Regions from separate parts of the Homo sapiens genome. Here region 1 is linked to region 2. Evidence: promoter capture Hi-C in 16 types of primary human blood cells and fetal thymus (Javierre and others, 2016). All regions are on one chromosome and are shown on one strand. The core of a region is centred on a gene start or on the middle of the fragment in contact, and the rest is flanking DNA. Distances in the headings are between cores, read along the strand shown.

Region 1 (7,173 bases), core at 2,791-5,290, 3.4 Mb before region 2:
TGGCTCTACAAAGGCCAACTACAAGCTTAACCCTGCCCCTCCAATCCGACGGCCTCCACCCTTTCCAATGTGAAAAAAAGAAAAGGGAAAGAGAAACAAAAAAAAGACAGGGAGGATAAAAAGGAGCCAGCCACCTGGTCTCAGGTTGACCACCAAACTTAAGGGACCCTACGACCTAGGACCAGTAGGCAGGAGACACTGCGGAAATCCTCTTTATGCCGCCAGCCTTTGCTTTTCCTTTGGCCCTCTCCAGGTTTCATGGCTCATGCTCATGCAGAAAAATAGAAGACAAATGATACATAATCATGGCCACTGGGAAACCACAGGAAGACTGGGATCATGGGGCTGCCGCCCCAGGACAAGGTGCTGGTCACCCAGCTGAATTACCCAAGGTTTTGCTGCAGGACTGGTGGTTCTCCCAAAGCCTGGAGCTCCAGATAGAGTTTACCACCTTGGGCTGGCACATGGAGGTCACCAAAATGAGCGAACAGCTCAACAGGCAGTCACAGGGCGTGTGGCAGGAATCTCCCTCAGAGGGGATACTCAGCAACTGACTGAAGTCTGACTCTGTGCAGGCTGTCCTGGCTTTCACATGGGGTGGGGGGGAGGGGTGACATGAGGGTGGCTTAGGGGAACTGGGGAAGGCCACCACGCAACACAGATTCCCATGGCATCACAGAGGGCCAAGGGTCCCAAGGGGACTGTCTGCCTCTACCCAAGGTGTGGTCCCTTTTTAAGCAGGTTGACCCAGGAGGCTCCAGTTTCACACTGGCTGCTGGGGCTTATCTGATAACAGACTTCCCGCATTCATTCTCAGGAGAAGGCCTTAGGTGCCCAATCAACAGCATAATGACCCAGGCCTGGAGCCAGGAATCCTCACCCATAGCCCATTGCCTGTGGCCGACTGAGAGCCTTTATGGGAGAGTTCGTGGGCAGTCTGGTGGCTATGGCGACACATGTGTGTGTGCGTCTGTGTGGGTGAATGCTTGAGCCCGCACCCCTGGGCCTGTGTGAGGATTTGTGTGTGTGTGTGTGTGTGTGTGTGTGTGTGTGTGTGTCTATGAGTTTGTGAGTGTGCATGTGTTAGTGTATGTCTTTGTGTCTGTGTGTGTATCTCCCTGTGCATGTGTGTTTGTGATTATATTTGTGGTTGTCGGGGTTTCCCTGTGAGTCCATGTGGTTGTGTCTGTGTCTGTGGTCTCTGGGTGCCTGCCTGTGTGAGTGAGAGTGGGCAAATGGGCACGTGGGAGAGACAGCCTGCCTATACACACTGAAATCTGGATCGTTGTGTTCACATGGCTGGATTGAAAGAAAAGACAAAGGGGGACAACTTGCCAAGGCTCCTGCTGGCTCAGGATTACACATTTAGAGCATCCACAAAGAGAATGGGAAAGAATGGTGAGCCATGAGGAACAGGTTAAGGGGTGGGTTCATGGTGACATTTCATGAAAAGTAACACATTGGCGCCTTTGTGGAACACCAGAGGGACTGAACTGGTGACCTTCATATCTGCTCCTTTAAGAACAAATGAGGCCTTTCTCACTTTTGTTCTGCAAAGGGGCATCCTGCATCACCAGGAGCAGAGGAAGAAGCAGTCTCAGTATAATGCTTGACCCGCCAAGAGCCAAAAGTGAAAGGAAAAAGAGAAGAAAGAAGAGAAAAATGAGAAGGAGAAGGAGAAGGAGTAGAAGAAAAAGAAAAAGAAAAAAGAGGAGGAGGAGGAAGAGGAAGAAGAACCAGAAAGACAATAAGAACAAGAAGTGGCAGCTTCACGCCACAGCAGCTGTCCTGAAGGACCTAGTTCAGGGGTGCCTCACTGCATGGTGGCATACACAACAAGAGGCAAAGAGAAACCTGTGATGTCCCGGTGAAAGGACACAACACCAAGAAGCTTCTTGTTGATGGGTTCTTTTCCGAGTGGTATCAAGGGCTTTGATCTACAAGTAGGCCTAGAGAAGCTACAGAGGACAGAGGTGCAGGCTGAGCCATGCCCTCCAGATGTCATCAGCGCACTGCAAGGGGCCACGGGCTTCTAATCTACAAGGCCTGGGTAGGGAAGTACCCCGGAAATGGGTGGGAGGAGAGATGTAAAACGGGGAGGAAATGGATACCAGAGAAAGGAGGTAATGAGCCACCTATGGCAACACTGACAGAAGGCAGATAGGGGAGGGGGATGCTGCTTACACCCCCAGGGTTCAGCCCGGGTCCTTCTGATTTCCTTAGGAAAAGTAGGCTTACTCTCCCTAAGGACATTCCTGTGCCCACCCGACCCTGCTTTTGCAGGCTGATCCTGAACTCCCTAAACCAGAAATTGATGAAAAGTAAAGAGTGAAGAAGAAAAAAGTGAAGGAAGAAAAACTCCAAAAGTACACAAAGAATCAGGGTGAGCAATGAGGTTGAGAGTGAACTGAAATGCAGGATATCCCAGGTGGAAAGGTGGCTGCCCAAATGGCCTCTTGTGCCTTCGTACAAGAAGAGTCACCTACCAGAGAAAAGCATCAGACCCTTAGGCCAGGGTTTGTACTGGGTCCACACAGAGGCCAGTGGAGCCAAGAGACTGCGCTGCTCCACACTGCCCCCACCCCCACACCATCCCACACACTCCACCAGCAAATACTGGGAAGCCAGACAGAAAGGGAGAACAAAAATGAATAAGAGAAAACCGGGAAGCTGAAGAACCCTTCCCATTGAGAGTTACCTAGATGTGGGGATCTGAGTGTGAGCACAGGTGCCTGGGCAGACACCTTTTAGTGAGTATTGGTGGGGATGCATGTATGTGCCTGAGAACATATAGAAGCACAGATGAAGACAGGAAAAAAGTTAGATGAGATGGGAGTTAAATATTACAAATGAGGATTTCTGACACTCAAAGTCACCTTGCCACCCCTAAGGACACAGTCCAGATCTTCCTGCATTCTTTTCTTCCTATGTTTTCCCTAGGCAGGCACCAGTCTCCTTCTGAGGAGACCTGTGCAGATTCATAGAAGAATCTGCAGCGGCCCACACACAGGCCTAAACACCCACACACCCCTCCCCCTTTACCCCCTCACACTGCCCCCGGTGCTACAAATCCACAGCAAAAGCATAGCATTTCTTGAGGATAGGCTCCTCTGGATTACTGGGACCCCCTGCCCAGAGAAGAATCCAGAGGGTAGGAGAGGCAGACATCACTCCTACTGTTGCAAGTTTCCCCAAAGTAACCACATAGGTGGGGAGCCCTGTTGAAGATGAGGTGGGTGCTGCTTGGGCAGTTTCTTTGTTTCTTTGTTTTTTTTGTGTGTGTTTGTTTTGTTTGGTTGGCAGCAAAAGGAAGGAGAGAAAGGCAAAGTGGAGGAAGGAAAAGGGGTGATTGCCATTTGTGGAGTCACAGTGCCATCCGGCGGAAGGTGTTTCTTGACAACAGACTACAAGGACACTTGCCTTCTTCCAGTCACAGATATCAGCGAGGATGTGCCAGGCTGGGTAGACTAGGCCCAAGCCAGGGTTTCCCCCACTGGGGTTCAGAGCCCTTAAGGAAGTGTACCTGCCATTGGAACTCCATGAAGAAGCAGCTAAGCTAGAGGCCCGGGGACAGAACAGTCTGGCAGCCCCAAGACCAGTCAGCCCAGTGGGCGGAGCTTCCCCATCTTGAAATGGGTTTAAGAGAAACCACTGTTCACTGACTGCCGAGACTGGGGCCATTTGCTCTGGTCTCTTTTGTGGAGAGTTCAGGGGTGCCCTTGGCTGGGGCCACGCAGGGACAGGGGCACCCTATCCTCCCTGGGAACAAAGAAGTTTTGGGATGCTGGGGTGGGGCAACTCATGCCAAGCAGTCTCTGGGGGCTGCCAGGGGAACCCATGGTGGGCCGCCCCTGCCTGTCCATTCTTACAAAGAGAGCTGTGGAGCCAGGGCGCTATCCTGGGAATGAGCATAGACCATGGGCCAGACAGGAGTTCCTCTCCCAGCTTCAGCCTGGGGGCTCCACACCACCATCTGTCTGGCACTCCCGAGCGTTCCTCAGCACATGAGCTCAGGTGCCTCCCATTTCCAGAAACAATTTCCACTTGATGGCACTATGGCTCCACAAACGCCAAGTACAGTTGTAACCCTGCTCCTCCACCCTGAGGGCCTCCACCTTTTCCAATGTGAAAAAAGCAAATAGGAAGGAGAACGAGAAAAAGACAGGAGGGAGAGAAAGGAACGAGCCAACTGGTCCCAGGTTGACCACCAAAACTCACAGGTCCCAATGACCAAGGACCAGTAGGCTGGAGACCCTGCAGGAATACTGTTTAGGCAGCCAGTCTTTGCCCTTCTTTGGCCTTCTCCAGGTTTCATGTCTCCTGCTCCTGCAGAAAGTAAAAGACAAATGACAGATAATCATGGGCACTGGGACACAAGAGGCTTGGGATTAAAGGGCTGCCGTTCCAAGACAAGGTGCTGGTCACTCAGCTGGCTTACACAAGGTTTTACTGCAGGACTAGGAGTCCTCCCAAAGGCTCTAGGTAGTTTACCGCCTTGGGCTGGCAGATGGAGGTCACCAGAACGGGCAGACTGCTCAACAGGGAGCCACAGGACCTGAGGCAGGTGTATCCCTTAGAAAGCACACTCAGCAACTCGTGCAAGTCTGACTCTGCACAGGCTGTCCTGGCTTTCACACAGGCAGGGGTGGGAGGATGTGGCTTAGGGGGACTCAAAAAGGCCACCACGTTGCCACAGATTCCCATGACATCACAAAGGGCTAAGGATCCCAACAGGACTCTCTCTGCCTCTATCTGAAAGGGGAGTCTGTTTTTAAGCGGGTTGACCCAGGATGCTCCAGTTTCACATCTGCTGCTGTGGCCTTTCTGATAAAAGATTGCCCGCATTCATTTTTGGGAGAAAGCCAAGTTGCCCAATCAATGGCATGAGGACCCAGGCCTGAAGCCAGGAATGCTTGCCCATAGCCCATTGCTTGTCAGAGATTAAGAGCCCGTATGAGACAGTGTGGGCAGTCTCATGCCTGTGGCTTTGTGTGTTTGTTTACCTCTAAGTGTGAGAATGCTTGAGCCCCAACCCCTGTGCCCATGTGAGGTTACCTGTTTATTGGTCTGGTTGTGTATGTGTGACTTTATGTGTCAGTGTGCCTGCGTGTGTGTGTCTGCATGTGTGTTTGTGTCTGCATCTGCATGTATCTCCATGTGTGTATGGGTTTTGTAATTTCATTTCTGGTTGTGGGGTTTCTTGTGAGTGTGTGCATGTGTTCTGTGTCTGTGGTCTGTGAGTTCCTGCTTGTGTGAGTGAGAGTGGGCAAATTGGCACATGGCAGAGACAGCCTGACTGTACACACTGAAATCCGTATCGTTTTGTTCACCTGGCCTGACTGGAAGGAAAGGCAATAGGGGAACAATGTAACAAATTGCTGAGGCTCCTACTGACTCAGGTTTACACATTTAGAGAGTCCACAAGGAGAACAGGAAAGAATGGTGGGCTATAAGGTACTAGGTACAGGGTGTGTTTACCATGACATTTCACTTAAAAGTAACACGAGGACAGCTTTTTGGTGGAAAAGAAGGACTGAACTGGTGACCTTCATCGCTGTTCTTTTAAGAAGAAAAGTGAAGCATTTCTTGAGGCCTAGAGCTGCAGAAGGACATTCCCCATCACCAAGGAGAAGAAGAAGCAATCTGCTAGAACATTTGCATGCAGAAATCCAAAAGTGAAAAAAAAAGGAAAGAAAGAAGAACAAGTAGAAGAAGAAGGAGAAGAAAAGTAGAAAAAAAGATGTAGAAGGAGAAATAGAAAAGAAGGAGAGAAAGAAAAAGAAGGCAAAAAGAGAAGTCAAAGAAGAAAAGAAGAAGGAGAAGGAGGAGGAAAAGGAAAGAAGGAGAGAAGAAGAGGAAGAGGAAGAAGAAGAAGGAGAAGGAGGGAAGGGGAAGAAGAGGAAGAAGAAGAAGAAAGAAGAAGAGGGAAAGAAAAAGAAGAAGAAGGAGAGGGAGTTGGAGGAGGAGGAGGAGGAAAGGAGGAAAAGAACAATAAAGAAGAGGAGCAGGAGTAGGAAAAGGAAGAAGAAACAGAAGGAGAAAAAGAATAGGAAGTGGGAGGTCCATGACACTGTAGCTCTCCTGAAGGATCTAGTTCAGGGGGACCTGAATGTGTGATGACATACACAACGAGTGGCAGGGAGCCACCGGTCATGTCCCACTTAAAGGACACACAACCGAGAAGCTTCTTGTCAATGAGATCTTTCCTGAGTGGGATCAAAAGCTTTGATCCACAAATAGTCCTGCAGGAGCTACAGAAGACACAGGTGTAGGCTGAACAGTGCCCTGAGGATGTCATCAGCAGACTGCAAGGAACCACTGAGCCCCAAGCCTACAAGGCCAAGGCAGGGAAGGACCCCCAAAAAGAGAGGAAGATGAAAAACGGGGAGGAAATATATATCAGGGAAAAGAGATAATCAGCCACAAATGGCAATATGGAGAGAGGGCAGAAAGGAAAGGGAAATGCCAATCACTCCTTGCAGGGATCAGCTGGGGTCCTTCTAATTTCCTTAGGAAAAATAAGTTTGTTTTCCCTAAGGGTGTTCCCTAGCCCAGTTGACCCTGACTTCCAGGCTGATCCTGACCTCCCCAAACAAAAGTGAATGAAAAGTAAAAAGAGTAAAGAAGAAAAAAGTGAAGGGAGAAAACCTCCAAAACTACACAAAGAATCAGAGTGAGCAATGAAGTTGAGAGTGAACTGGAATGCAGAGTGCTCCAGGTGGGCAGCTGGCAGCCCAAGTGGCCTCCTGTGGGCTCACAGAGAGGGAGCCATCAGCCAGGAGAAAGAGTCAGTCCCATAATCCCAGATCTCCACCACATCCGCACAGAGGCCTGTTAGGCCAGGGGGCTGCCCTGCTCCCCGCTGCCCCCACCCCAACCCCATCCTGAACATTATGCCAACAAATACTGGGAAGTCAGACAGAAAGGGACAAGAAAGATGAAGAGGGAACCGGAAACCTGAAAAACTGCCCACTGAGAGCGGCCTAGAGGACCAGACACAGGTGTGAATGAAGGTGTCTGGGCAGACACTTATGAGCATGGGTGGGGATACATGGATGTGCCTGAGGACCTATGCAAGCACAGATGAAGACAGGAAAAAGTTGAGACATAATGGGGGTTAAAAGTTAAAAACGAGAACCTCTGAAACTCAGAGTCACAATGCCACCCCTAAAG
Region 2 (7,055 bases), core at 871-3,370:
TTTTAATCCACTTGGAGTTGCATTTTGTGTATGGTGTGAGATAAGGATCCAATTTAATTTTCCCCCCAAGTGCCATCTCATCTTTTTTAAATTTAAAATTTTATTTTATTTTTGGCCGGGCGCGGTGGCTCACGCCTGTAATCCCAGCACTTTGGGAGGCCGAGGCAGGTGGATCAGGAGGTCAGGAGTTCAAGACCAGCCTGGCCAACATAGTGAAACCCTGTCTTTACTAAAAATACAAAAAAATTAGCCAGGCGTGGCAGTGGGCACCTGTAATCCTAGCTACTTGGAAGGCTGAGGCAGAGAATAAAATTTATTTTATTTTTAATTTGTTTTAGATGGGGTCTCTCTCTGTTGCCCAGGATGGAGTGTAGTGGTGCAATCATGGCTCACTGCAGCCTCAAACTCCTGGGCTCAAAGGATCTTCCTGCCCCAGCCTCCTGAGTAGCTGGGACTACAGGTGTGTGCCACCATGCCTGCCTAATTTTTAAAATTTTTTTGTAGAGATTGGGTTTTGCTATGTTACCCAGGCTCACCATCTCATCTTTTAAAAGGGAACAGTATTTCCCCATGGATTACATGAGATTGCTGTCTTTTAGCCATTTTATCCCCTCAGCCTGATTGTTTCTCCCAGCTGAACTTCATTTATGGCTCCCCTACTAGATTCCATCTACCAAGCTTCCTCCCTTTATTTATTTTTGAGACAGGGTATTGCTCTGTCACCTAGGCTGGAGTGAAGTGGTGCGGACACCACTCACTACAGCCTCAACCTCCCAGGCTCAAGTGATCCTCCTGCTTCGGCATCCTGGGTAGACCAGAGGTGAGAGCTGCCACACCCAGCTAATTTTTTAATTTTTAGTAGAGATAGGGTCTCACTATGTTGCCCAGGCTGGTCTTGAACTGCTGGTCTCAAGTGATCCTCCTGCCTTGGCCTGCCTCCCTCACGATGGGATTACAGTTGTCAGCCACCATGCCCAGCCACTTCCTCACTTTCCTGGACTTGTCCTAAGTCTTTAGGACTCTTTCTAGCCTTCGGACATAATTTAATAAATAGTTAAAGGAATAATTATGGCAACCACCAGATCCTTTCCATGTTTAAGTCTGAGAATGGCACCAACTTACCTACTGGTTTCACCTGCCATTACAGTATAAGGTCACTGAAGGGGAAGATTCAGCTGACATTTTAAGCTTCTTGGATTGCTAAGGCCCCTGCCTTATTAATGATAGAGAGCAGAGAGGGAAGAGAGGTAAGGTGGCATTGTGGTATAGAGCTGTGGGAATGGGATGGGGGAGAGGCATGGAGGCAGAGGTAGGTGGAGGTGGAGAGCGCTGGCTTAGGGACCCTGACTCCTGGGGGTTCACACAAAATACCTTTCTCAGTAAGGAATCCCGATTTTGAAGCTCTTAGGTTGGCTCTGCATGCAACTTTGTTCTTGGGTTACGGCGGCAGTTTCTGAACTCTGCTTGGTACAACAGGAGGGAGGCAGGGGATAGGGGTAGTATCTCAGGCCGTAGCCTTCCCCAGCCTGTATCCCTGTTGCCTGGGAGTAGCCCCAGTCCCATTCACAACCCGTCCGCCTTCGCAACCCGTCCCGCCACCAATCCCACCCCACCATTAGCAAAGTCTGAGCTCACCTAACACTGAATCCTCCCGTTGGCCCCTCCTTCCCGTCCAGCTCTCCGCTCCCCCCGGGTCCTTCCAATTCCCGACCCTGTCCTTGTCCTAGCCTTGAAAGCTGGCCAGGCTAAAGCCACAGCCGAGCTCCCACCTTCCTCTTGCCCTGAGGGGCATAATCCTGCTGTGACTTCTGTCTCAGCAAGCGTGAGCTCAGGTCTCCCCCGCCTCCTTGAACCTCAAGAACTGCTCTGACTCCGCCCAGCAACAACTCCTCCGGGGATCTGGTCCGCAGGAGCAAGTGTTTGTTGTTGCCATGCAACAAGAAAGGGGGGCGGAGGCACCACGCCAGTCGTCAGCTCGCTCCTCGTATACGCAACATCAGTCCCCGCCCCTGGTCCCACTCCTGCCGGAAGGCGAAAATCCCGTTAGGCCTGGACGTATTCTCGCGACATTTGCCGGTCGCCCGGCTTGCACTGCGGCGTTTCCCGCGCGGGCTACCTCAGTTCTCGGGCGTACGGCGCGGCCTGTCCTACTGCCGCCGGCGCCGCGGCCGTCATGGGGTTCCTGAAACTGATTGAGATTGAGAACTTTAAGTCGTACAAGGGTCGACAGATTATCGGACCATTTCAGAGGTTCACCGCCATCATTGGACCCAATGGCTCTGGTGAGATAAACCTGGCCGCGGCCCTGCGCACGTCCCGGCCTGGACCCCTTATCCGGTGCCGGAGTAGTACAACCCAGCCCATGTAACCTGAAACGTCGCGGACCCTTACGGGTTCCTTGCCCGTCCAGAGGGGGTTCTGCTCGAACCCACTCTCCCCGCGCGGGTGCTCTAACTCGAACCCCTTCCAGGTGTCACTTGCCGCTTCCTGCGCGGCCCCCGCCCCGGCCCAGTGGTACAGGCCGAGCTGCCAGTTACCCCGCCTACTTCCCCCTCCCGCCAAAGGAGTCGCGTCTGGAACCAGCTTCCCGCCAGCTCAGTCCTCCGCCGCGCGGCTCCCCGCCGGACCGGCCGGAGCCGGCTTCCCAGCCTTACTTGACCCCCTCCGGAGAATGTGGGGACGCTGGTAGCTCTCCCGTGGCCTTCGGTCCCAAACGGTGCACTTCTGTTTCAGCCCAGCGTCCTCTCTCGCCTCGCATTGGTACACTCCAACTCCTTTCTACTCTTCTCTGGAGGCGGCACTTTTGAATTTCAGACCCAGCGCTCCAGTCTTTAGAATGCTTGAGGTGTCGATCCCCACCCCCCACCGCTATGTCAGAGGTAGTTGCCTCGAACTCGCCCTTTTCCTACCACCGAAACCGTCAAAAGCCGAAATTAACTAATTTACCAAATTTGTTGAATGCTTATTGTTTATCAGGAGTTATTCAGTTGCAAGTTGTGGAAACAGCGGAGAATAGAATAAACCAACTCCATGCTCACAGGGAACTTATATTCCAGAGGGGAAAGAAGATAAGGAGAAAATAAGATGGTTTTAGGCTGTCATAAGTGCTATACAGGAAATGAGACAGGTGGATGTGATAAAGTGACTTAGGTGGTGTCTTTAGAAAGGGTGGTCAGGTAAAGCCTCTATTTTGTGTCTTCCCAACTCTAAACGATACACCGTGGATTCCTCTCACCTCAGATGTCCATTTGGAATCCTGCTGTATTCTTCCACCCCAGAGATGTTCTAGCTGAATGATATCCTAGCCTAAGAGGCTGCCCTTGCTGAAGTAGCACATACTGAGTACCTTTCCTGGAGACTGAGTGTCTCAACAGTGGCACTATTGACATTTCCAGCGAGATAATCCTTTGCTGTGGGATGTGCTCTGTGCATTGTAGGATGTTTAACAGCATCTCTGGCATCTACCTGCTAGATAACAGTAGCACCCCTGCTCCCCAGGCATGACAATCAAAACTGTCTCTAGACATTGCTAGATGTCACAGAGGGTGTGTGTGATTCCCCCAACCCCCCAACTTGTTTGAGAACCACTGGCCTGGAGGGCTAATGCTTGGTGTCCACCCAGTTTCCTCGGGTTTTAGTGTAGTGGCCCCTGTTGGAAGAGCTAGGATGTACCTCTTGGCATTCAGTCCCCTCAGCATTAGTAGATTTGTATTCCCAGCTGTTCTGAAAAGGGCTATGGCACTCCCCCACTTGCCCCCGTTCTTCAAGGCCCACCTCTACAAGCCATTCCTTTAGTCCCTTTGGTGAGTGAGTCTTCCTCTGTGGCATACCGTAGACACTTGGTACACGTTAATGTTTATTAAGTCCTATATTGATGGTGCATGTTTTTGTATCTTCATTGGCCTGTGAGTACCCTAAAGCAGACATTCCTTGAAACGTTTTACTGGTGTTCAGTCCATAATATATATTACAAAAATGTTTACCATATTGATTGTGATTAGAGAGGCTTGGGGTTGTGAGATGATGTTGTCCTCCCTGGAAATGATGGGAGAAGCCCAAAGGTTGGATATTGGTTCCTAAAAGGCTGACTCCTGGTCTGCATGATGTGCTAGTCCTGCTGTGATGAGGGAGACAGCTGAGTCCAGACTTAGGATAGGACTAATTAATTGAGTACCTACTCTGTGTGTCAAGTACTTTATTTATTGGGACCCTGTTTTTTCTTTTTCTTTTTCTTTTCTTTTTTTTTTTTTTTGAGACAGTCTTGCTCTGTTGTCCAGGCTGGAGTGCAGTGGCATGATGTTGGCTCACTGCAACCTCTGCCTCTTGGGTTCAAGTGATTCTCGTGCCTCAGCCTCCCAAGTAGCTGGGACTACAGGCGTGCGCCACCCCATCTGGCTAGTTCTTGTATTTTTAGTAGAGTTGGTGTTTCTCCCAGTTGGCCAGGCTGGTCTCAAACTCCTGGGCTCAAGTGATCTGCCTGCCTCAGCCTCCCAAAGTGCTGGGATTACAGGCATGAGCCACTGCACCCAGCCAAGGGACCCTTTACAATTAAATTCTCAAAATGACCCTAGGAGGAAAATGCCAATAGCTTCGTTTTATACATGAGGAGACTAAGGCACAGAGGTGTGATAACTTGTCCGTGGTTCTCAGAACCCATGCCTGTGCTCCTGCCACTCCAATAGAGAAGTATGTGCCGCACATATTTTTAGACCCGTGAATTGTGGTTTTTTTCATCTTTTTCCAGGTGAGGGAATGGAAGGTCAGCTAAGTGGTAGTGAAAGTAAGATTAGAACCTGGTCTGTTGGTTCTAAGCCCAAGTTTGCAAGCTTTTTTAGATGGAGTCTCACTCTGACGCCCACACTGGAGTGCAGTGGCATGACCTCGGCTCACTGCAACTTCTGCCTGCTGGGTTCAAGTGATTCTTTTCTTTTTTTTCTTTTTTTTTTTTTTGAGATGAAGTCTTTCTCTGTCGCCCAGGCTGGAGTGCAGTGGCGTGATCTCAGCTCACTGCAACCTCTGCCTCCCGGGTTCAAGCTATTCTCCTGCCTCAGCCTCCTGAGGAGCTGGGATTACAGGCGTGCACCACTATGCCCGGCCAGTTTTTGTATTTTTAGTAGAGACGGGGTTTCACCACGTTGTTCAGGCTGGTCTCAAACTCCTGACCCCGTGATCTGCCCACCTGGGCCTCCCAAAGTGCTGCGATTACAGGTGTGAGCCACCGCGCCTGGCCTATTTTTTTTTTTTTTGGAGTCAGGGTCTTGCTCTGTCACCAAGGCTGGCATACAGTGGCACAATCATGGCTCACTGCAGCCTCAACTTCTCGGGCTCAAGCAACCCTCCCATCTCAGCCTTCCCAGTAGTCAGGACAACTGGAGTGTGCCACCATGCCGAGCCAATTTTTGTATTTTTTGTAGAGATGGGATTTTGCCATGTTGTCCAGGCTGGTCTCAAACTCCCGAGGTCAAGTGATCCACCCACGTCTGCTTCCCAGAGTGCTGGGATTACAGGCGTGAGATGCCGTGTCCAACCTAATCATAGTCTTATACCGTCTCTATGGAAGGACTTGGGCTGCTGTTTTTATGGCTGAGTAGAAAGGTGTTGGAAATCAGATCTTCAGTTCAAAGTCATATATAAGTTCTTTAGGGACAGTCTTGAGATAGAAATTATAGAGACTAAACTGTTCCTCCTTATCCACCAGCCCGACTAAACTTTTTTTTTTTTTTTTTTTTTTTTGAGACAGAGTCTCTCTCTGTCGCCCAGGTTGGAGTGCAGTGGCGCGATCTCAGCTCACTGTAACCTCCACCTCCTGGGTTTAAGCGATTCTCGTGCCTCAGCCTCCCGAGTAGCTGGGATTATAGGCACACAACCGTGCCTGGCTAATTTTTGTATTTTTAGTAGGGACGGGGTTTCACCATGTTGGCCAGGCTGGTCTCAAACTCCTGACCTCAGGTGATCCGCCTGCCTCGGCCTTTCAAAGTGCTGGGATTACAGTCATGAGCCACTGCACCCGGCCTAAACTTTTAAAACAATATCTATTTTTTGGCCAGGAACGGTGGCTCATGCCTGTAACCCCAGCACTTTGGGAGTCCAAGGTGGAGGATCTCTGGAGCTCAGGAGTTTGAGACCAGCCTAGGCAACATAGGGAGACCCTGCTTCTGCAAAAATCCAAAAACTAGCTGGGCATGGTGGCTTATGCCCATGCTTCCCGCTACTTGGGAGGCTGAGACAGGAGGATCACTTGAGCCAAGGAGGTCAAGGCTGCAGAGAGCTGTGATACTGCTACTGCACTCCAGCCTGGGTGACAGAGTCAGACCCTGTCTCAATAAATAAATGAATAAGGTCTGGGCGTGGTAGCTTATGCCTGTAATCCCAGCACTTTAGGAGACCGAGGTGGGTGGATCACTTGAGGTCAGGAATTCGAGACCAGCCTGGCTAACATGATGAAACCCCATCTCTACTAAAAATACAAAAATTAACTAGGTGTGGTGGCACACGCTTGTCGTCCCAGCTATTCAGGAGACTGAGGCAGGAGAATCACTTGAACTTGGTAGGTGCAATCTAGCGTGGGCGATAGAGCGAGACTCCATCTCAAAAAATAAATAAAATAAGTAAATGAAACCTTTTTTGTTTTCGGATTCTAAAATGAACAAAGTAAAAGCTGTAACTCCACTACTGAAAAGATAGCCACTGTTAATGTTGAAAACCTTATTTATTTGAATAGCTGGTACATGTACATGGTATACAATTTTAAAAATCCTTAAGGATATACAGTAGTAAAAAGAAGACTCCCTTGACCCTAGCTGCTTAGTTTCCTTTTCAGAGGCAATCACTGCTGCACTGTTTACGTTTTCATATATTTGTTTCCTATGCCTTCTCTTCTCCCAAGTTTTATTATGAAAATTTGCAAGCATATATGTGCATTACTTAGTCATTTGGAAGTAAATTACAGACTCAATTACATTTCACCCCTAAGTGCTTCAGCATTCACCTCTTAAAATCATCATTCTCCTGTACTACCACTATTCAGTTATCACAACTAAGAAAATTTCCTCATG

Evidence for each region. The method cuts DNA at HindIII sites, captures the fragments that hold promoters and counts their contacts. A CHiCAGO score of 5 or more calls a contact.
Region 1: a fragment that was not itself captured here is called in contact with the fragment with the promoter of SMC1A in region 2 in 1 of 17 cell types (fetal thymus); the score reaches 7.8 in fetal thymus.

What each region holds. Positions count from the first base shown.
Region 1 is chrX:56,795,863-56,803,035 of GRCh38, reverse strand. The region is part of intron 2 of NBDY (negative regulator of P-body association); the gene reads right to left. Among named protein-coding and RNA genes, the nearest start is that of NBDY, 70 kb to the right of the region's middle. RefSeq lists an enhancer at 2,093-2,162. The HindIII fragment of the contact is 4,293 bases long and covers 1,894-6,186 here.
Region 2 is chrX:53,417,719-53,424,773 of GRCh38, reverse strand. It overlaps SMC1A (structural maintenance of chromosomes 1A), which reads left to right and starts at 2,120. Exons shown (of 25, transcript NM_006306.4): 1 at 2,120-2,282. The coding sequence starts at 2,174. It overlaps RIBC1 (RIB43A domain with coiled-coils 1), which reads right to left and starts at 1,901. Exons shown (of 8, transcript NM_001031745.5): 1 at 1,770-1,901; 2 at 1,372-1,460. RefSeq lists enhancers at 1,813-1,862, 1,017-1,988, 2,153-2,332, 2,523-2,572, 2,693-2,872 and 1 more. The HindIII fragment of the contact is 3,638 bases long and covers 1,191-4,828 here.